Regions from separate parts of the Homo sapiens genome. Here regions 2, 3, 4, 5, 6 and 7 are each linked to region 1. Evidence: promoter capture Hi-C in human tissues and cell types (Jung and others, 2019). All regions are on one chromosome and are shown on one strand. Each heading gives the region's core, a stretch centred on a gene start or on the middle of the fragment in contact. The rest is flanking DNA. Distances are from core to core; before and after follow the strand shown. Region 1 holds the start of TLE1 (TLE family member 1, transcriptional corepressor). Region 2 overlaps LOC107987087 (a long non-coding RNA gene). Region 3 has its middle 480 kb from the start of SPATA31D1. Region 4 has its middle 450 kb from the start of SPATA31D1. Region 5 has its middle 390 kb from the start of SPATA31D1. Region 6 overlaps LOC105376107 (a long non-coding RNA gene). Region 7 has its middle 650 kb from the start of TLE1.

Region 1 (3,219 bases), core at 300-2,799:
AAGATGTGCCCTTATGGAAGAAGTTACCACCGTTTGGCTAAACCAGCATTATTCATTCACTGCTCATGTGGAAATGTTCCTCAAACAAAAGCATAAATGCGGCAATACTGACGGTTTTCTGCTGTGTATTTAGAGACATACACAAAAACCAAAGACTCTCAGCATTAATTATACAGCATGTCTTGATTATTACAATCTCAAAATCCCTTTTAACTCAAGTTCCACTTCATAAGAACCTTAGCCACGTCATTTACCTAACTCTTCCCATTTAGCTCTTCACACAGCTCAGCTCAGGAGTACCACCCAGACTGTGGGGGTGGGGTGTGCGGGACAGGTTTTTCAGGTCTCAGTGCTGGTTTATTACATTGTCTCTCTTTGTTCCCAGGAATTGGAAACAGACTCGTAGTCTTGTAGCTGAGAAGTTCCTAAAAACCTCAGCCGCTCCCCACCTCTCCCAACACAGCGAAGTCAGGACTTTTAAGACGAAGACCTGGGATTTCGCGCCCCGGGCAAAACGTCTCATCTGCGGACACGCGTGCCTTGTTCTGGCAGCACCCTGGGAATCCTTCCCGCCAAACGGGACAGGACGATCTTTTTGAAAAGTGGCTTGAAATCCTGCAATAAAAATCAAATCCTACCACTTTGGGTGCAAAGGGGGTGGGTGGGGTGGGAGGACATCACAGTCGTCTTTGCTGGTGTACCTACGCCAACCGTGGCGTTGCTCATTTACGCATTTCCAACTAAGTGCACAGTCCACTCCCTCTCGTACATCCGTAAAAAGGCAGCTCAAGGAAAAACAAACCTCAGATAAATTTTTGAATGTGGCCTCACTTTTAGAGTAGCATCAAACAAGGGGTCCAGCACTGAAAAACACATTTGCTCGAATTACCAAAAGCCCCCCTCCGCCTCCAATAAGAAACTCCGCAGCTAGTCTTTGAGTTACTTTCACTTAGATCTGAGGATTTTCATTAAAGGGAAAAGTGAGCAAGTGGCAGGATTTTTGCTAACTCGAGCCCTCAGCTTCCCCGGCTGCACGCTCGCCAGTCCCTCCCGCTAGCGCGCGCCCGCGCGCTCTCTAGCCAGCCCCACGTTACTTTGATTGACAGCCCAGCCCCGCCGCTCTCCTTCCCACCGACCTTCCCATCATCAGTGCCAATCTCCGCGAATCGCCGCTTCCCATTGGCTGGTTTTGGCGTCCCGCGGCTCCTCCAGGAACAGTTCCTCACCAAGCCCGGGAGGACGCGGCTGGCGGAGGAGGGGCCGGGATGGGAAGGGAGACCGAGGAGACGGCGGAGATGGAAGCGAGAGGAGGGGGGGAGGGAGAACGCCCCGTCCGGCGCTGCGCTGCCATACGCTCCGGGGAGGAGCGCGTCAGCGCCCCACGTTGGTTGCAGCGCACGCGATTGGCTGATGCGGGCCTTCTGCCCCCCCCCCACCCCCCAACCTCCCGGGCTCACGTCCCCCGCCGGCTCCGCGCTCGCGCCCCCCGCCCGAACGGGGCTGGGCGGGGCCGGCGCTGGTTAGCTCCGGAGTGTGAAACCGCGTGTTAATGTAAGCGGCGCGAGAGGCGCGGGCGGCGGCGGCGGTGGGAGCGGCGGCTGCAGAAGCAGCAGCAGCAGAAACAGCGGCGGGTACTCTGTGCCCCGCGTCCCGGAGGCAGCCGACTGCGCCACCCCACCCTCGCACGGCCGGGCGGGACCCGCGCCACCAGCCCGGACCTCCGTCGTCCCGCGGCGACCAAAACCCCCGCTGGCCCCACCGCTGTGACTACTCTGGACTCGCCCGCAGAGTTTGCCCGCCGGGGAGGGTGGCCGATTGGCGGAGCGCACTCCTGCTGTTTTCCCCACCATCTCGTGGATGTCGTCCCTCGGGTGGTGAGAGAACTTTGCAGTGGGCTGGAGCGCCCTTTGCGGAGAAGCACACGAAGGTGAAGGAAGGAAAGAAAGAAGACCGAGGAAGAAGGAGCTCGGAAGAAGGGTCCGGAGCGGCCGGTCCGGCCGTGCAGGGCGAGTGCGCCCGAGGCGCGGCGCCCTGATGCTCCCCGGGCTCGAGGAGCATTGGGCACTTGCGGGACTGCTCTCGGTGGAGTAGCCCCGTCGGGCCCGGAGGGTTTGTGCAACCGCGGAGAACACCGAGTGCTGGTCGCACGGGGCGTGCCGAGCCGCCTCCCGGCGCGCCCTCCGCACTTTCCCCGCCTCGTCATCCGTCGCTCCCCGGCCAGGAGCCTCCGCTGCGTCTTCAACCTCGCTCCCCTTTGCGTCCCGGGAGCCTGCGAGCACCCGGCCGAAGGCGCAGCCGAATCTTGCGGGAGTCGCCCCGAAAGCGTCGGGTTTGTGTGGGGTTAGCGGGGGCCGCCGCGCCACCTGCACCTCGCCCGCCGCCGCCTCGGGGAAAGCCCGAAGAGGAGGCGGACCAGGAGAAGAGCAAAGAAAAGCAGTCCGTCTGGATTTGTTTGCCCAGGACTGGCGCCGCGCACGCGGATCGCCGAGGGGAGTGCGGTCGGAGTCACCGCGCCCCCGCCTCCCCGCCCGGGCAGCTGAGGCCGGGGGTTGGAGCGCTGCCCCCGCGCACAGTCCCCGAGCGCCCGACGTCTCCGCGCAGGTTCTTGAAGCAGCTGGGCCTGGGGCGCCCACTAATGTGGCCCTGAGGGCCGGAGCCCGCACCGACGGGAGCGGGAGCCGGAGCAGCTGCGGGCGCCGAGTGGCCGGTGCGCCCGGCGGAGCGCGCGTGCGTGGCCAGCGCGCTCCCCGCTTCTGCTTGGCTTTCCGGCTTAATTTTCCTCGGCGGGATTAAAGTTGGAAATTGACCGGAGAATTGAGTTGCCGGGGAACAGAGCCCCGGCCGCCGCCAGAGCGATGTTCCCGCAGAGCCGGCACCCGGTGAGGCGCGGCTGGGTGGTGGTGGGGGGCCAGGATCGTTGGGGAGGCGCTTCTCCCGGGCGGTAGGGAGACTGGTGGCTTCTGAGGCCCGGCGGACCTTCTCGCCCTCAGCGGTGTAAGGCTGGGGAGGTCTGGGGCCCTCTCTTCCTGGGGTGGGGAGTGGGCCGAAACTCTTAATTTTCTCCCTCCCTTTGGGCTCCTTCCTACTTGACGTCTATACCGAGCGGACAGGGGCGCTGGGGAAGGCTGGGGTTTCTCTCCTGCAGCCATATCCCCTCTACCTTCCCCGAGTGGGGGCAGGGCGCCCCCCCCTTTGTTTCTCCTCTCGCCTATTTACATG
Region 2 (3,219 bases), core at 358-2,857, 810 kb before region 1:
TAAGGGGGAAGGAGAAACAGGGAGTTGCTGTTCAATGGGTAAAGTTTTAGTTGTGCAAGATGAGTAAGTTCTAGAGATCTGCTGTATATTGTGGCCTTAGTAAACCATACCGTATTGTGCCCTAAAAAATTTGCTGAGGTTAGATCTCATGTTATGTGTTCTTACCATAAATCAATCAATCACAGATTGGGGCAGAAGGTGATCTGGATCTTCCTGAACATTTTAACTTTACTTATGAATGGGGCAGACACTGAGATTGAGCATTGATAATTCAGAGATTTATTCATGTCCTCATGGATATTACATAACTTTTTATAATGCCAAATATGTACCATCAAAAATGTGTAGGAACATAGGCCCTGACAGATGTTGAACACTCTTTTTCATCAGAATCATGAATCTTTGTTTCCATGAATCTTGAAAAAAAGACTGCCTAAGATCTTTGAAATGAATATATACAACATAAAACAAATCCATCATAATTAAAAAGCGACTCAAAGGAAATAAACTTCTAGAAGGGAAAAAATAAAAGCAGCCGCTAGACCCCACACCACACCCATAAACTGTTGCACAACTGTTACCACCTCCAGTGATGATGTACTGCCAAACCAAAGACCAAGGTATTCCTAGGATGATATGCTAAATTCCTTACCCAGGCATCCCTGTAGATCCTGTGCATTACAAAAAAAGAGGAAAATTGGTTTATCTCCATGGACAAAGAGTTGGTAGAAAAGAAAAATTTTTAAGGCATGTGTCTGCTGGCGGAGCTCTAGGTAGTATCCTTGGGAATTCTTGCCCTTCCAAAAGATTCTTTGGGGTTATATTGACAGCTTATCTCCAGAACACAAAGAGAGTGTCTGGAAAACACAAAAACTATCAATAAGTAGCTATCACTTTATTGAGAAAATGGAAAATGTGGTAACAAAATGGAATAATTTTGTTCAGAAGCCCTAAAGTTTGCTTTTACTCCATTGAGTGTATAAAAATATGTAAATTGAATTCTCAAGCAATCACTAGGATGCTTCTTTTTGCTTTCTGTGCACCAATTGTGAATTTCAGATGCAGTAAATACCAGTGAGTCCCACAGTTTGGATTGGAATTATTTGATGAATATGCTTATTACCTTGTGAAGCTTGCTAAGGGAGATAATTTATATTTCAGTTACAAACAAGTGTGCAGGAATGGATGGATTCTACAGTAACACCACAACCATGGATATTCGAGCTACCTCACTGAACAAATGTTTATTAAGCCTAATATCTGTTATGTGACATGTCCTGTGCTAAACAATGGGTGCCCATAGATGAATAAAATATTATCCCTTCCTTTTGGGTCTTATTCCCTAATGAGGAGGAATTCCAGAGTTTAAACTTAATAAACGGATTGTTTTCAATTCTATAATGGAGATATAGAGGTTTCTGACTCATATACCCAACTGTTTTCTTGGAAGTATAATACAATGGTTATGAGCATAGTCTTGAGATTTGCACTGACTTGGACTTGCATCTAAACTCCACCTCTTACAAACTGAGTGACTTGGCATGTTATGAGCTTCTGTTTTATTGACTTTAAAATGAGGACAAAATGTTAGCTACTTCACAGGTTGTTATGACAAGTAATTGAGATCATTCACGTAAAAAAACCTTGCACAGAGTAAATCTCCAATAAAAATTAGCTCAGATTATTACTACATTCCAGGCTAACACTTGGGTGTGCACCATTAAGGATCTTGCAAGAGAGTGTAAGAGACATCCTCCTCTGTAAATAGCTCCATTCACAGAGATGTCACTGTTCTCTCCCTTAAGAAAACATTGAGTATTTCCCCTTTGCCACACCATGATCTTTGATCTGGATTGGAAATACTCATTTTCATTTTATAGGACCCTTACAAAAAATATAAGTCATATAACTAATAAATTATGTCTTATATTAATAAGATTATAAATAAAAGATAAAACATATATAGAGCCTTATATAAAATGGCCCTATAATTAGCTGAGATAAGACAGAGGAGGCATAATAGGAATTCATAAATTTTCTCTTTGGTTATAAGGTTTCTTTCTTTGTTTACTTTAGTAGTGAGGTGTAGCATACATACTATAAAGTATGCAAGTCTTTTATGTACAGTTCAATAAGTTTTACTTATGTGCATACCTATTGACCACTTTCCAGATCAAACACCCTTTCTCACGTACCCTTCCAATAATTACTTCCTCACCACACCCTTTCTCACGTACCCTTCCAATAATTACTTCCTCACCAAATGTAACCACTCTTTTGATTTCTATATATGTGTGTGTGTATATATATATATATATGTTTTGCCTGTTTCAGAACTTCACATAAGTAGAATCAAATATTATGTACACATTTATCTCTGCTCTATCATTCAACATTATGTGATATTCATTCAGGTTGCATGTTGGAGTACTCTTGTTTTTTTCATTAGGTTTGATTCTTTTGGTAATTTTCTATGGGCACATTAATTTTATCTACAAATAATGGCAACTGTAGTTTTCTTCTACATTACTGATGCTTGTTTCTTTTTGTTCATTTTTCTTATCTTATTGCAGTGGATAGAACATTCAGTATAATATTAAATAGAAGAGTTAAAAGCAAGACATTCTTATGTCATTCTCAGTTACAGAAAGAAAGCTTTTAGTTATTTATTTTAATATTATTGCCATTAAATATTATTTTGGTATCAATTTCTGGTAGGTACTCTGGCACATTAAGAATACCAGGTATTTTATTCTGAAGGATTGTTATCCTAAGTAACTGCTTTTTAAAAATCTGTTGTGATGGTCACATTAGACTTTTCCACCCTTTTTTAGTATAACAAATAACATTTATTTCTTCTTCTATTATTACGCCAATTTTGTATAACTGGAATAAAGCCTACCTAGACACAATATATTGCTCTTTTTTTGTAATCCTGGGTAGAATTTACTAATTTTTTATTTTAAAATTTTGCATCTTTTTTGATGAGAGATTTGGCCATTACCACCAAGAAATTTTAATAATGTTCTCTGGTGTTAAGGTCATGCTGGCCTTATAAAATGAACCACAGCAGTTCACAGAGGGAAATTTATAGGTCAAAATGCATGTATGCTTGTATTACAAAAGGATAAAGCCTGAAAATCAAAGATTAAATGACCACATAAAGGAACTAGTAAATAAACAGCAATTTAAAGTCATAGAAGAAATAAAATATTTAAG
Region 3 (3,219 bases), core at 184-2,683, 780 kb before region 1:
TCACTTGACATTTTTCCTTCATTCTGTTAATGTGGTGCATTATATTGGTCAATTTTTGTATGCTGAACTATCCTTGTATTCCAGGAATAAATTCCACTTAGTTGTGGTGTATAATCCTGTTAATATGCTACTGAAGTCAGCTTGTTAATATTTCATTAAACATTTTGGCATCAATGTTCACAAAGGATATTGGTCTATAGTTTTCTAGTTTTCTTTTCTTGTGATGTCTTTGTCTGGATTTGATATCAGCATAATGCTGGCCTCATAAAATAAGTCAGAAAGTTCTCCCTCCTCTTCAATTTTTTTGGACAAATTTGAGAAGGTGTGGCATTGGTTTTTCTTTAAATGTTCAGTAGAATTCTCCAGTGAAGCCATTAGGTTTGAGGGTTTTCTTTGTTGGTAGATTTTTGAATACTGATTCAATCTTTTTTACAAATAACAGGTCTATTCAGATTGTCTATTTCTTAATGATTTAGCCTTGGTAGGTTTTGTGTTTCCACAAATTTGTCCATTTCATCCAGGTTATCCAATATGTTGGCATACAGTTGTTCATTGTACTCTCTTATAATTCTTTTATTTCTGTAGAAATGTTAGTAATGTCCCCATTTTTTATTTCTGATTTTAGTTATTTGAATCTTCTCTCCTTTTTCTTAGTTCTAGCTAAAGGTTTTCACTTTTGTTCATATTTTCTAAGACCAACTTTTGGTTTCATTGATTTTTCTCTATTGTTTTCCTATTCTCTATTTCATTGATCTCTGTGCTATTCTTTATTTCCTCCTTTCTGCTTTGAGTTACTTTGTTCTTCTTTTCATAGTCCCTTAAGTTGTAAAGTTAGGTTGTTAATTTTAAACTGTTTTTATTTTTTAATGTAAGATCTTATAGCAATACATTTCTTTCTTAGCACTGATTTTGCTGTGTCCCATAAATTGGGCTATGTGATGGTTTTGTTTTAATCTGTTGTTAAGTATTTTCTAATTCCTTTTTTATTTCTTCTTTGATCTATTAATTCAGAGTGTGTTATTTAATTTCTATGAAGTTGTGAATTTTTCAGTTTTATTTCTGTTACTGATTTTTAACTTCAATCTGTTGTGGTCTGAGAAGATACTTTGTATGATATCTGTTTAAATCTATTGAGACCGAATTTGCAGCCTAACACTTGGCCTAAATTGAAAAAATGTCCCACGTGCACTTGAGAAGAATGTGTATTATTTAAATCTTCTGTTTCCTTAATCATTTTATGTATAGTTGGTCTATCCATTTTTGAGAGTGGGGTGTTGAAGTCTCCAAATATTATTGTAGAACTGTATATTTTCCCCTTGAATGTCATCAGTATTTGCTTCATATGTTTGATGTTCTGTCATTAGGTGTTTAAATGTTTATAATTATTATACTTTCTTACTGTATTGAAACTTTCATTAATATATAATGTCCTTCTTCATCTCTTGAATAATTGATTTTTATTCATACTTTTTCTTTTTTTGCTAGAAGAACTATCTGGATGGTGAAATTAAAGGTCATTTCTCCCTTACACTTTAATGTTTAAAAAAACTAATACATGTTACGAAAATTCAAACTAGCCTGCAGCACTAAAGAAAAACAATAAACACTTTCCAACCACACTTTCTTAGCAAAATGTCTTTTTCTTATTTTTAACAATGAGTTATTTCTCATCTGCTTAATCTCATCCTCCTAATTTTAGATGCAGTTTGAAGCATCGGCAATGCTCTAGTGTGTTTGTAATTCTATTGTTTTCTTATGTTCCATTTCTTCTACTGTATTTTGAAATAATCACCCTACCACTACTCAGTCCTCAGTCATAATAATATGTTTTTAGAGTCAAATCCAATCCAGTGCAAATAAAGTATCAAACCTACCAAAAAAGACCCTTTTCTCTCTTCTTAAGAAACGAAGAGTTGAGTGATGACATGCTCTCTTTGCCATGGGCATTGTTACTGAAGATATCAAGTTGATATATTCAGGCATTGCAGCAGGAAATAGGAAAGGTTTTCTTTTTTAATTCCTATTCAAATTATCCAAAGAAAGTAGCCCTAAAATGCTCTATCTGAGTCAGAGAGTTTCTGCCATTTATCAAATACATTGCACTTTATTGTAAGTCTGAAGGAATTATATTTGAAACTGACTGTAAGTTTGTAATAGGCAGATCCATTATAGTTTGTTTCACTAGAATAAAACATGACAATAAAATATCTCTGGAAATACATCTATCACAAGTTAGCTTCTCTGGAAGCAAATGATGAAATGGAACATAGCATGCTAGATGTTGATTAGGGATCTATATCTGTGGAAATGAGGAGGATAAAGCAGGATTGGTCAAAGAGAGAAGTCAAACTGTGGTGTAGGCCCACAAAGCCTTGGCCAAACCCACGGGAAGCTCTCAAGTGTACATGACATGAATGTGTCCCAGAGTGGATTAAATGGTTGGGACTTCATATCCTTGCTGCAATTATTTATTAGATTTGGGCTGTCTCAGGAAGGGTTTACCCTTGAGTGATGTAGCTTTCTGCAGCTGGGGCAATTCAGAAGGGGCCGAGAGCTAGAAGCTGACTGCTGAACTCCCAGTAGCTGGACAACAAGTCATTCAATAAATGGGAATCTGGGCAGTGCTTCTTCACACCACTACAATTTCTACTTAAGAGATATATCAACCAATTATAATTGGGAAAATTATTTCAATCCCGATGTGAGCAAATACAACACATTTTAAAAATAAGCATTTATGAGACAATCATGGAAACTTGAACAGGTGACTGGATATTTAATGATATTTAGACATTATTGTCAATTTCTAAGTTGTGTAATGGTCATATTTTGAAAAAGAATTCCTTGGAGATATATGCTGAAATACTTACAGTATTATAAATGATAACAGAGATTTGCTTCAAAATAATCAGGGGGTGGGGAGAATGGATAGAATATGGGTGAAACATAATTGGACATTAGTCAGTAATTATTCAAGTTGGACGATACCATACTCCATACCTTTATGTCTGAAACTTTCCATCATGAAAGTTAAAACACACACACACACACACACACACACTCAGATTTTGCTTAAAAGGAGAAAAAAAATTCTACTGATAGGACAAATAAGGCATACATTCAGAACTCTCTTTCCTTGGAAATCCCTTGATGACATTATGAACTGAATATGGGTAATTCCTCTCAGCCACAAAGTTCCTAAGAAATGGAATAGAGATT
Region 4 (3,219 bases), core at 245-2,744, 750 kb before region 1:
TCATGTACCTGCTAACTACCATAGTTAAGTCATGTTCCATAGCTGGATGGCTCTACAAGGAATGTCAGGAACTCCACAGACTTTGCTTTAACTCAGGAAGATTTACCAACACTTATTTACTCACTTAATGATTTTCTAACCCAACATATGAAATAAAGATTTCCCATGCATCATCTGTTCCCTGAAGCTTTCCCTTATTCCAGCAATCTCTTCTTCCTCAGAAATGTCATTGCTCTTAGTAATTTTGTCACGAGTTAATCTATGTTTTCCCCAGGTTTCCATGGTACTTTAGCTGCCACTCCCTTCTAGCATTTAATTGCTACTTTCTTAAAGAACTCAAAGAGAGCAGTCAGTATAAAATCTCAACATTGGAGAGAATTTTGAGCACATCTAGTTTCTTTATATACCCAGGTAATCACAACTAGAAGCAGAGCAGTGATTATAATCTATACAACCTAATTTCAAGTTGACTGTTCTCACTGGTGTATTACACTGCCTCTTACTTAAATTCTATCTTGTCATACTTATGTTGAAACATGGCTTATCTTCACCTTGAAGACTAGATACCCATCTGATTTACTTTTGTATGAGTTCAGGACTAGCTAGGAAAAGATGGCAAATTAAAATTAGGTAGTTTGTATTGAATTTAATAAAGAGACCATTTGCAAAACTGAGGGCAGGGTTTATGTTTTCCCTAGCCAAGAGAAGACAGTTCAATACTCTAACAGCAGAAATTATGGGGAGCCATTATTGAGTCCTAAGGGGCAAAGCAGTGAACATTTACAAGAACCTAAGGACGGTGGCTCTGTGAGTAAAGCAACCCATCTAAGATGATTTAGCAAGAAGGTGGCAAGGAGGATAACTACTGCAACTTCATTCTCTTCCCACCCTAGATCTCATGCCAGCATCTCCCATTGGCTAAATTTAACGGAAGCTATATTAGGGTGTTCTTGCATTGCTATAAAGAAATGCCTCAGACTGGATAAGTTGTAAATAAATAGGTTTAATTGGCTTTTGGTTCTGTGCACTATACAAGCATGGCAACAACATCGCTTGGCTTCTGGAAAGACCTCAGGGAGCTTTTACTCACGGCAGATGGTGAAGCAGGAACTGGCATGTCAAATGGAAAAAACAGGAACAACAGAGAGAAAGAGTTGGGGGGTTGTTGCCACACACTTTTAAACAACATCTCCTGTGAATTCAGAGTGAAAGCTCACTTATTACCAAGGAGATGGCCCAGGCCATTCATGAGGAACCTGCCCCATGATTCAAACACCTCCCACCAGGCCCCAGCTCCAACATTGGGGATTACATTTCAATATGAGTTTTGGGTGGGGGCAAATCTCTAAACTATATCATTCCCACCTTCCTCCCACAAATCTCATGGACTTCTCACATTGCAAAATACTATCATGCCTTCCCAGTAGTCCCCAAAGTTTTAACTCATTTCAGCATTAACTCAGAAGCCCAAAGTCTAAAGTCTTATCTGAGACAAGGCAAGTCCCTTCCATCTATGAACCTATAAAATAAAAAACAAGTTATTTACTTCTAAGATACAATGGGGGTGTAGGCATTGGGTAATTCCCATTCCAAAAGAGTTAAATCAGCTGAAACAAAGGGGCTACAGGCCCCATGTGAGTTCAAAACCCAGCAAGGCAGCCATTAAATCTTAAATCTCCAAAAGAGTCTCCTTTGACTCTATGTCCTGCATCCAGAGCACACTAATATGAGGTGTGGGTGCTCAAAGCTTTGGGCAGCTCTGCCCCTGCAGCTCTGCAGGGTTCAGCCCCCATGGTTGTTCTCCTGGGCTGGCATTGAGTTCCTACAGCTTTTCCAGGCATACGGTGCAAGTTGTTAGTGGATCTACTATTCTGGGGTCTGGAGGACAGTGGCCCCCTTCTCACAGCTCCACTAGGCAGTGCACCAGCTGGGACACTGTGTGGGGGTCTAACCCGACATTTTCCCTCCACACTGCTCTAGTAGAGGTTCTCTGTGAGGGCTCCAGCCCTGCAGCAGGCTTCTGCCTGGGCACTCCAGCCTTCTCATACACCCTCTGAAATCTAGGCAGAGGTTGCTGAGCCTTTTTCACTCTTGCACTCTGTGCACCTACAGGCTTAACATCACATTAAAGATGCCAATGCTTACAGCTTTTACCCTTTGTTGCTGAAGCAGTCATTCGTGTTATACCTGGGGCCCTTTGAGCCACAGCTGGAGCTGGAGCAGCAGGGATATGGGGAGCAGTGTCCTGAGGCTGTGCAGGGAAGCTGGGCTCTGGGCCTAGCCCATGAAATCATTTTTCCCTCCTAGACCTCTGTGCCTGCAATGGGAGGGTCTGCCAGGAAGGTCTCTGAAATGCCTTCCAGGCTTTTTCCCATTGTCTTGGTTATTAGCACTTGGCTCCCTTTTAGTTATGCAAATATCTCTAGCCGGTGGTTGCTCCATGGACTGCTTAAATTACTCTCCCAGAAAGGTTTTCTCTTTCTCTGCCACATGGCCAGGCTGCAAACTTTTACACTCTGCTTCCCTTTTAAATATAAATTCCAACTTTAAGTCATTTATTTGCTCCTGTATCTGAGCATGGGTGTTAGAAGCAGCCAGGCCACATCTTGAATGCTTTGCTGTTTAGAAATTTCTCTGATAGATAGCCTAAATCATCACTCTGAAGTTCAAACTTCCACAGATCCCTAGTGTATGGACACAATGCAGCTAACCTCTCTGCTAAAACATAACATGCTGATCTTTGCTCCAGTTCCCAATAACTTCCTCATTTCCATCTGAGTTCTCATCAGCCTGGACTTCACTGTCCATATCACTAGCGGAATTTTGGTGTCAACAATTTAACCAGTCTGTAAGAAGTTCCAAACTTAATCTCATCTTTCTGTCTTCTTCAGAGCCCTCCAAACTCTTCCAACTTCTACCTTTTACCCAATTCCAAAGCTGCTTCCACATTTTCCAGTATCTTAAGCAATACTCCATGCCTAGTACCAATTTTATGTATTAGGGCATTCTTGCATTGCTATAAAGAAATATCTGAGATTGGATAATTTCTAAAGAGAAGAGATTCAATTGGCTCATGGTCCTCCAGGCTGTAAAAGCAGGGCACTGACGTTGCTTGGCTTCTGGGGAGGCCTCAGGAAGCTTTTACTCATGGCAGAAGGTGAAGTGGGAGCTGCCACGTCACATGGCAAAAGCAGGAGCAAGAGAGAGAGGGTTGGAGGC
Region 5 (3,219 bases), core at 219-2,718, 690 kb before region 1:
TACATGATATGCAAATAAAGCAAATAATGTGAAAGTGGTAGATGGATGACTAATATTTGGAAAACTCATCATTGTGTCTGTGGTTTTTGTGTGCATTACATGTATTTTATGTGTGGTGTATAAAGTATTATTTGTGTGTGTTGTGCGTCATCTATGTAGTAACCACACATTTTGCATGTGTGGTATGATCACACAGTATATATATTGGGTATATTTGTGTGTCACATATGTTTGTTGTGTGTATTTTGTGTGTTCTGTATGAGTGTTGCTTGTATTTTGTGCTAGTTGGGGCTCAAAAGACAATACCCCCAAAGTATGGCACTTTGACATGCTGAGCATTTTGAACTAAAATAGGAAGGCCTTAGAAGACGCCTCAGAACCAAAGACTTTCTAATCTTGTTTCTTCCCCTGTCTCCAAACACAGCATGGGACTGCCTCTGGAATGTCCTTATCTGACGAAGGAAACTTCTTTTCAAAAGAAATGCAATTGTCCTAAGACCCCCTCCTTAGGAATCTCATAAAAGAACTAGAAAAGACTAACCACTGAAAAAGACAGGAGACTAAAAGTCCATGATCATGCACAGATAGACTTTTTTTTTTTTTTTTTGAGATGGAGTCTCACACTGTCGCCCAGACTGGAGTGCAGTGGCGCAAGCTCTGCTCACTGCAAGCTCCGCCTCCCGGGTTCAAGCCATTCTCCTGCCTCAGCCTCCCGAGTAGCTGGGACTACAGGCACTGACCACCACGCCTGGCTAATATTTTGTATTTTTAGCAGAGACGGAGTTTCACCGTGTTAGCCAGGATGGTCTTGATCTCATGACCTCGTGATTCGCCCGCCTTGGCCTCCTAAAGTGCTGGGATTACAGGCGTGAGACACCACGCCCGGCCACAGAGATAGCCTTTTCACCTATTCTTCTGAGAGCAACTTTGAAAGATTACCTTAGAGACTTTATATGCATAATAAAACAACTTTCATTTACAATAAAGTTCTGCCCCTCACCTTCATACTACCTCCTCCAGAACTCAAGGAACTTTGTTTCAGGCCATTCTTTGGCCTTATTTCCCGTGAAAATCATTAAGTACTCCCCTATAAATTGCCTACATGCCCCCAGTTTCCTCTTCCCCGTAAAGAGAGTATTTAAGCTTCAACAATCTCCACTTTGAGTCTCATATTTGCAGGACTCCTGTGTCCACGAGCACGTTAATATATTTGTATGCCCTTTTCTCCTATAAATCTGTCTATTGTCAGTCATTTCAGTGAACCTTCAGTAAGTTAAGAGAGAGCTTTCCCTCTGCCCCTACAGCTGTTTGTGTATGTTGTAGTTGTGTGTATATGTCTGTGATGCTACCAGAGGAGCAGAATCAAACTGACTGCAGTTTGATTATCCAATTTACAAGGATAATTAATCCCATGGGTTTCTCTGTGCTTCGTTTTCCATGGGTCTTGTTTTGTGAGCTGGCTAAAAATTCAAGATATATGAATTTCTGCCAACATATTAACAGCCTCTGATCTCTCCACTATCAATTGGAGAAAACCAAGAATAACTGATGGTCTCCAATGCTTTCTCCATATATTAAGTAATAACTTACCTTTGAATCATATAGTTTGAAAATGTTCTCACAACAATTAATTTCCCCTACAGTTCTGAAAGGAAAAGTATTCTTTCCAACAAACTTGGAAAGAAGTCAGAATGCCCAATTTTCACCAAAATGGAAAGTGAGGCTCAGAAAGATTAAAGAATGTGCTTAAACTCATGACTTTATGTGGCAAAGCTAAGATTAGAAATCACATTTTACGGTTTCCAATCAAGTACTAGAAATATGATAATACACAAACTACGTTTCCCTTCCTGGACACATTTTCATTAATATTTTTTAATATCTAATAATAAGGTATTTCCTTTAAAGTGTTGCTGAAAGATTTTAATCGCTTTATGTATTAACACTTCCTTCCCTAGCAGATACGGCTTGGCAGGGAAAGACTAAATATGATGCTATGCACATGGTGTTCTCACCTTGGTTCAAACCCTCATTATTAGGATTTGGACCACTATATACAGAGATTCCATGATTTGGTGTCGTTGCCTCAAGTCTTGCTTTTTCTATTTCATCGTTTGCAGTGCTGCTGGGAGTAGTCTTTCAAAAATTCAAATAAGATCACCCTACTTACTAGGTTTAAACCCTTTGGTTGTCTCTACTGCACTAGCAAAAAATCCAGAATCCTTAGCAGAATTTTATTTTTAGTTCCAAGATACATGTACAGAATGTGCAGGTTTGTTACACAGGTACATGTGTGCCATGGTGGTTTGCTACACCTATCAACCCATCACCTAGGTATTAAGCCCAGCATGAATTAGCTATTTTTCCTGATTTTCTCCCTCACATACCTTGCTGAAAGACCCCAGTGTGTGTTGTTCTCCTCCCTGTGTCCATATGTTCTCATTGTTCAGATCACATAGATTGCAAAAATTTTCTCCCATTTTGTAGGTTGTCTCTTCACACTCTCATGATAGTTTCTTTTGCCGTGCAGAAGCTCTTTAGTTTAATTAGATCCCATTTGTCAATGTTTGCTTTTGTTGCAATTGCTTTTGACGTTTTTGTCATGAAATATTTGCCTGTGTCTATGTCCTGAATGGTATTGCCTAGATTTTCTTCTAAGATTTTTATAGTTTTGGGTTTTACATTTAAGTCTTTAATCCATGTTAAATTAATTTTTGTATAAGGTATAAGGAAGGGTTCTAGTTTCAGTTATCTGCATATGGCTAGCCAGTTCCCCCAGCACTATTTATTAAATAGGAAATCCTTTCCCCATTGCTTGTTTTTGTCAGGTTTGTTTAAGATCAGATGGTTGCAGATGTGTGGTCTTATTTCTGAGTTCTCTATTCTGTTCCATTGGTCTATGTGTCTGTTTTTGTACCAGTACCATGCTATTTTGGTTACTGTATCTTTGTAGTATAGTTTGAAGTCAGGTAGCATGATGCCTCCAGCTTTGTTCCTTTTGCTTAGGATTGTCTTGGCTATAAGGGCTCTTTTTTGGTTTCATATGAATTTTAACATAGTTTTTTCTAATTCTGTGAAGCATGCCAATGGTAGTTTAATGGGAATAGCACTGAATCTATAAATTATTTTGGACAGTATGGCCATTTTGATTCTTCGTATTCATAAGGAATGTTTTTCCATCTGTTTACGTCCTCTCAGATTTTCTTGAGCAGTGGTTTG
Region 6 (3,219 bases), core at 360-2,859, 650 kb before region 1:
TGGTCACACTCTACCAAAAATAAAAGTTTTTTAATGTAAAACCTCTAATTTGACATTAATAGGAAGTCAAACAGTACATCTCAGAAATCACTTTGAAATGTTAAATCATGGAGCAAAGAAGGAGTCAATATTCCTAGTAATTAAGAGCTGGGCTTTGGAATCAAGTAGAATTAGATGCAATTCCAAGGTTAAACACATGCTTGCTGATTTATTTACACATCTAAGCCTCAGTTTCCTCTTCTTTCAAATGAGGACTTTGATAAGGCCCCGGTCATTAAGTTGTTGTGTTAAATGAGAAAATGTATATAAAAGTGATTAGACCATAGTTTTCAATAGATGTTATATGATTTTACTGTTGTTGTTTCTATTGTAATTTGCATTTTGAAATTACCTAGGCAGAAAAAAAGTCTCTAATGCTAAGGACAAGAATCCCAAGCAGAAGCTGAGAGAATGTGATGGGGAGTCTCACAGATCCTAGAGCTCCAGAATTTAAATTAAAGGCCTCCGGTAGTGGTTACATTTGGACAGTTAAAAAAAATGGTAAAGCAAATTAGCCTCATTTTCCTCCAGGCTCTTCCCCTTAAACTGTCTTTCATTTACATTTTCAGAAATACCAGCTGGGAAACAACCGTATTTGTGACCTAGTTCTTCTCCTGGGATGGAGGAGGGCCTAAGTGAGAAGATTCTGCCCAAAATGGAGTCAGCAGTCAAGGCTAAGTATGGGGGTAGTTTTGCTGACCATGGGCACAGGGCATGAAAAAGGGAAAAAGGAAGTTTTACATGCCTGGCAAAGGTAGATAGGGAAGAAAGGGGTAGCCCATAGGGTCTTAAAAGAAGACAAGAGAATAGAAACTGAAGACATACCAAAGGTAAAGAAAGCATGCATGCCACTGTGGATTGGCAGGATAAAAGAAGGGGTTCAGGTCAAGCCTGAAGCCATGATAACAGAAGTGTGGTGTATTAGTCTATTCTCACACTGCTATGAAGAATTACCTGAGACTGGGTAATTTATAAAGGGAAGAGATATAATGACTCACAGTTCCGAATTGCTGGGAAGGCCTCAGGAAACTTACAATCATGGCAGAAGGCAAAGGAGAAGCAGGCACCTTCTTCACAGGGTGGCAGCACAGAGTGGGTACAAGCAGGGGAAATCTCAGGCGCTTATAAAACCATCAGATCTCATGAGACTCATTATCACAAGAACAGCGTGGGGGAAACTGCCCACATGATCTGATTACCTCCACTTGGTCCCGCCCTTGACGCATGGGGATTATGGGAATTACAATTATAGGTGAGATTTGGGTGGGGACACAGAACCAAACCATATCTAGTTTTTAAGAATAACTTTGGTGCTCGGTGAGGAAACTGCTAGAAGTAATTCATTACCTTTGTTTGAGGTTAGTGGTAAAGAATATTAGATAATTGTGAGATTAAAACTTTAATTTCTTATCCTAAGTGAAGAAATAGGCTATCTCTTCAGAAAATAAAATATGCTTTTGGAGGTACGAATATGCATTTGAGAGAGGAGGTAGAAAAAAACTAGCTAGGCAAATAGTTCGGGAAAAAAGTCCTCGGCAGAACTTCCCTTCTGGCAAAAAGCAGCCCAAGAAATCACTTCTTTTCTAATAAAGAGCAGCCTGGAAGATCAGGCTGCAAACATAGATAAGGAAGCTGGAAGTTTGCAAGCGGGGAATGCCTGCAGCTGCACCGATAGAAAGGGGTAGCTGGGGGCCAGGCATGTCACCATGGGGGCTCCACCTCCTGCTTTTTAACACATACACAGTAGGAAAGCAACATGGAGTAGCTCAGGCAAAGGACCTGCCTATGTAATAAAAGATTGATGTGGGGGCTGCCAGAGATTCACCCTCTATTCAGATGGCACACCTGGTCCTAACCAGTTTTTCACACCCTATGTAGATAAGATGCTGCTTCCCCACTAGCTTATAAACACTTGCATTTCACTGCTGAATGGCAACCCTTTTTGGGACCCTTCTCTGCTGCAGATAGCTGTTCTCTTTTTTTTTTTTTTTTTTTTTTTTTTTTTTTGCCTATTAAACTTCTGCTTCTGCTCTAACCTGACATTTGGTGTGTCTGCGTTCTTGATTTCTTCGGCCATGAGACCAAGAATTTCAGGTGCTACCCCAAGCAACAAGGCTGTTTCACACTGAGCCAATCTTAAAAAGTTTTACTATTTTATTAAACTGACACAGAATCCATGACTTTCTGTGTTCAATATTCTTTCTGGTTCAAAAACAAAAAAGTTCAAAAACTCTAAACAATAAAACAAAACAAAATTTCAATCTACTTCCTAATGTTAATCTGACTCCCTTCGCCAAAAATTAAAATCTTCAAAATAAATCATACCTTACCAGAAAAATAATCTGCAAGTATTAGTAATGCACACAGTAAGAAGAAAATTTATAGTAAAGCACAGTGCTCATTAACAAAATAAATCAAGATTCAGCTGCATGTGGAAGAAAGCATCCAGTGAACTGATGTTAAAATTTGTGATAGAATCATTTTTTTCCTGCAATTTCCCAAGATTTCCTGCATTTACTGAGACCCTTCAGAATAAGTTACTGCTTTCTTCAGCACACTTCAATGTTTTCACTCGTGATATCTCTTAAAATCAGGCATGACTTCAAAGGCAGGGGCAATACACATTACTATTACATATTCTTTTTTAAAACCATAAATCTAATTTTTTATTCTTAATTACATTTTAATTATTACTTGTTTTTAAACAAAATTCAACCCATGTTGTGGTGAAATGTCAACTGTTTTTGCCAATTATAACCGTTTGATGCCTGGACAAATAACAAAGTTTGCTCTATGGATTCCTTTTTACTACCATATTGCTTATTTCTAGTTAGAGGGGGGAAAAGATATGTAGAATATTTGATATATGAAGGGAATTTTAGAGCTCATGTTTCCAAGTCTCAAAGTCCATTAAACTGAGATCCAGAGATCTTCTCGAAAAACTGTTGCGACATGAGAAAAGACAAAATGATATGAAATCTGGAGTTCTCCAACATCACCTTAACCAGGTCACCCTACAATGATGATACTGCCAATTAATCCCACTCACATGCTTAGAGCTTCCAATAAGTGATGTGCCCCTACTTGGAAATATGAGCAGACATCCAAGGACTATCAAATACTCTAAGGCTATAAACAGAGTGATAAAGATATTGGAATAGACATATTAGAGAGTGATCA
Region 7 (3,219 bases), core at 390-2,889, 650 kb after region 1:
ACAGATGATGATGCTGCTTCCCTGGGGCTGGTTTCATAGGAGGACTCCGCTGTTCTTTTGAGAGCCAGAGTTTAGATCCTTTTCTATTATTACTCAAAAAACCTTTGGAAATTTAGAAGTCTTTTAAAGAAGTTGTTCTTATGGTTAAAAAAAAATACTGTGAGATGTTAGGTAAGTAACTGTACTTCTCAGGATTAACAGGGATAATAAAAAGGTGATCTTTAGGACTGAATGAGAAAGTAGATGTAAAAATGCCTAAGATACCCAACACAGAGAAACACTTAAGTATTTGCTGTTATTATTTATTAAAGCACATTTTTATATACAATTTTGTGTTTCTACAATATAAGTATTTCAGACCCAGATTTAAGTAAAATGTAGTAGGGTCCTTGTCTGTGCTAAGTGTTTTTTTTAATGTTGCCATATTTAATTCCTAAAACAATCTTACAAAGTTTGAAAAGTTTTTCTTTTTAAATAATTAAGCAATATGATTTTCAGAATGGCTAAGCAACTTTCATAATGTCACACATATGATGTCTCCAGATTCCAAGTTTCATGTTCTTTCATTTACATTAATAATAATTCTAATATCAATACTTCATATGCACTGAATTTGAATAGGGCATTACACTGACTTAATCATGTATCACATCATTTTATCACCACAGTACACCTATGAGGTTGCTGCCAATGACTCTATGGAGATTAAAGGAAGTCAAGTCATTGACCCAGACTGCACAGGTAGAAGTTGTAGAGCAAGGATTTAAGGCCAAATAGTTCTAATTTTTCTGCCGGTGGTTGTCCTACTCCTTTACAACATCCATCATTTCAGGGGCTTATTCTTACCAAATAAGAGTCAATGTGAATGGGGGAACATACACATTTTGTTTAAATGTGACACTGTAGATTGCTCCTAAGATGTCACAGGCTGGGAACCACTAACCTAAGATCTCCTTTTGATTTTTAATTGAGTTGCTCCTGAAATGCCTTTAGCATCTTTGACTCCATGTTCTTTCTCTTCTTTGCTTCAGTAACTCCCATGCATTCTTCAAGCCTTAGAATAGCTGGAACCTCTTCTGAGAAGCTTTTCTTTCTACTTCCAGTCCCAATGGGTGCTGGATTTCAGGTGTGTGCCCTGGGCAAATCTCTATCACCCATCAACCACAAATTTTTCCTATTTTTCCCTCCACTAAAGTAGGTCTTTAAACTTCTAACTGTCATAGAACCTAGAACATGGAAGGTGCTTAAATAAGTTTGTCCACTGAGCAATTAATAAAAATTACTTCCTATCAACATATCTTACTATTTTTCTGCAGTCAGTGATTCATTCTCAACCAAAAACGTTTCTTTTCTCTACCATTGGATCGTGCTTCTCCTCTGCTCCCTGCTCTCAAGTGGTTTCCCTATCTCATCTGTGTTGGGAGCAAGAACTTTGTTTTGATGAAGGAGCTTTCATCACATCATTTTGAGTTTCCCATGTCATTTCTTCATTCTTAAGCTACCAGCATCTCCGCTCATTCAGGCTTTGGCACATGACATTTTCTCCAAAAATTAGTTTTGTCCTTTTTGTTTGTATCTGAATTCCTGCTTGCCTTTGTCTTTGGGTGGTATGTCTCTCTCTCTCTCTCTCTATATATATATATACACACACATACACACACATACACACATACATATATATGTGTGTGTGTATACATATATATGTATATGTATATGTATGCATGTGTGTATATACACACATATATATGTATATACACATACATATATGTGTGTATATAGAGACCATTTTGGTCTCTATATATTTATATATATTTTTTTTCCTAAAACACTAATTTCTTGATAGCTAAAACCATGTCCTTAACTCTCATTAATGGAATATTACATAAATAGAAAATCAAGCTAATGCTGTGACAGTCCAATTTTTCTCTGACTGAGGATAAAAATTCATATTTTTATCAAGGGTCTAGTAGAGTCCATGGAACATAGACAAACTTTCTTTAATATTTTTTTAAATTGAGCTTTAGAGGTTCAGTGTCTTCTTCAAGGTCCCTCAGCAAGAAAGTTGTCAACTTGATATGGCATGAGAGTAAGTCGTCAAGTCAATGAGGTTTCACTCTGATTTTCCAGTGGTTTGTGGTTTAGCAGCAATATTATGTCCATGGGGGGTTCAAAACTATAAATAAATTGGTCAGCTTGTAGACATAATTTTAATTAAAATTTTTCATCCATTTAGCTCCATAAGTCTTACTAAATTTGAAGTATTAATATTGGGGATAAGAATTAAGAAAGAAAGCATTAAAGGTATAGAATCTACCTTTTTAAAGGCACTATAAAGCACCTTCCTAGAGGTAGTTCCTTCTTCAGAGTGAATAATACAGCTAGAGTGGCATTTAGCTTAAAGCCCTGGCAGCTCACTTTTTTGGCTGTAAGGCATAATTACGGAGTTGGACACGGTGCATTGGCTACATTAGGGAAAAAGCTTGCAAGTCTTTCATTTATGTGGTTTGGAGTCAGAATGAAGTTCTCCAGATTTCTTTTTGATGCTTCTTATCTCTAGACAGATCCTTTTCATTAATTGGTTTATGCTTTCCCTCAGTGGATATCAGTTGAGAAACATAAATGTTAAATGACTCACTTTCATCCCAGAGAACATCTCCCACATTTTAGAATGAAACGTCATAATTGAGAATCAACAACCTTTTTATTTTGTTCCTAACGGACAATTAAAGCCAGACTCTTAGTAACTTGACATTCTTGAAAACCACCACATGACTTGATTGAGCCTATTTCTTGAACTGCAGAATTAACATAAAGACATTAAAATCTAGAGAGTAAACGATCAAGATGAGAAAAATTGAGGCATAAAATAGGGTGAAACCTGAATTATAGAAAAAGTTCTTCATTGCTTGAAAGATACAATTTACAAACTATTATCAGCTGTCAAAGATGATTGTGTTTAACATGGGGTTTGTGTGCAGCTCAGGGGAGATCCATGAAGAATTCTGAAATTATGGTTTAGTCAAATGATGGCAAATAGATTTTTCACTTGTGGATCAACTCAGAATGATTGGAGGAAGCTTCCAGGAGTATTTTATTTAAAAAAGACCTAGAAGTTGCTTCTGCCCTAGTGGGGAAGAGAGTGCTATGGGTAAGCAGCAATGTGTATACAGTAGGTACAGGAAGTGAGAGTGACAATATACATACTACCAGCTTGCAGCT

Evidence for each region. The method cuts DNA at HindIII sites, captures the fragments that hold promoters and counts their contacts. A contact is called where the count stands out against the background at its distance.
Region 2: a contact is called between a fragment that was not itself captured here and the fragment with the promoter of TLE1 in region 1, in 1 of the 25 tissues and cell types used here (mesenchymal stem cells).
Region 3: a contact is called between a fragment that was not itself captured here and the fragment with the promoter of TLE1 in region 1, in 1 of the 25 tissues and cell types used here (mesenchymal stem cells).
Region 4: a contact is called between a fragment that was not itself captured here and the fragment with the promoter of TLE1 in region 1, in 1 of the 25 tissues and cell types used here (mesenchymal stem cells).
Region 5: a fragment that was not itself captured here is called in contact with the fragment with the promoter of TLE1 in region 1 in 1 of the 25 tissues and cell types used here (H1 embryonic stem cells).
Region 6: a fragment that was not itself captured here is called in contact with the fragment with the promoter of TLE1 in region 1 in 1 of the 25 tissues and cell types used here (lymphoblastoid cells).
Region 7: a fragment that was not itself captured here is called in contact with the fragment with the promoter of TLE1 in region 1 in 1 of the 25 tissues and cell types used here (mesenchymal stem cells).

Annotation. Positions count from the first base shown.
Region 1 is chr9:81,687,877-81,691,095 of GRCh38, reverse strand. It overlaps TLE1 (TLE family member 1, transcriptional corepressor), which reads left to right and starts at 1,549. Exons shown (of 20, transcript NM_005077.5): 1 at 1,549-2,879. The coding sequence starts at 2,856. It overlaps TLE1-DT (TLE1 divergent transcript), which reads right to left and starts at 1,383. Exons shown (of 4, transcript NR_109772.1): 1 at 1,137-1,383. RefSeq lists silencers at 1,002-1,151, 1,302-1,651 and an enhancer at 1,524-2,238. The HindIII fragment of the contact is 9,578 bases long and covers 1-3,219 here.
Region 2 is chr9:82,500,790-82,504,008 of GRCh38, reverse strand. All of the region lies in intron 2 of LOC107987087 (a long non-coding RNA gene), which reads right to left. Among named protein-coding and RNA genes, the nearest start is that of SPATA31D1, 510 kb to the right of the region's middle. The HindIII fragment of the contact is 3,913 bases long and covers 1-3,219 here.
Region 3 is chr9:82,468,738-82,471,956 of GRCh38, reverse strand. No RefSeq gene overlaps it. Among named protein-coding and RNA genes, the nearest start is that of SPATA31D1, 480 kb to the right of the region's middle. The HindIII fragment of the contact is 4,989 bases long and covers 1-3,219 here.
Region 4 is chr9:82,439,689-82,442,907 of GRCh38, reverse strand. No RefSeq gene overlaps it. Among named protein-coding and RNA genes, the nearest start is that of SPATA31D1, 450 kb to the right of the region's middle. The HindIII fragment of the contact is 4,143 bases long and covers 1-3,219 here.
Region 5 is chr9:82,380,340-82,383,558 of GRCh38, reverse strand. No RefSeq gene overlaps it. Among named protein-coding and RNA genes, the nearest start is that of SPATA31D1, 390 kb to the right of the region's middle. The HindIII fragment of the contact is 6,771 bases long and covers 1-3,219 here.
Region 6 is chr9:82,340,807-82,344,025 of GRCh38, reverse strand. The region is part of intron 4 of LOC105376107 (a long non-coding RNA gene); the gene reads right to left. Among named protein-coding and RNA genes, the nearest start is that of SPATA31D1, 350 kb to the right of the region's middle. The HindIII fragment of the contact is 6,616 bases long and covers 1-3,219 here.
Region 7 is chr9:81,034,706-81,037,924 of GRCh38, reverse strand. No RefSeq gene overlaps it. Among named protein-coding and RNA genes, the nearest start is that of TLE1, 650 kb to the left of the region's middle. The HindIII fragment of the contact is 5,929 bases long and covers 1-3,219 here.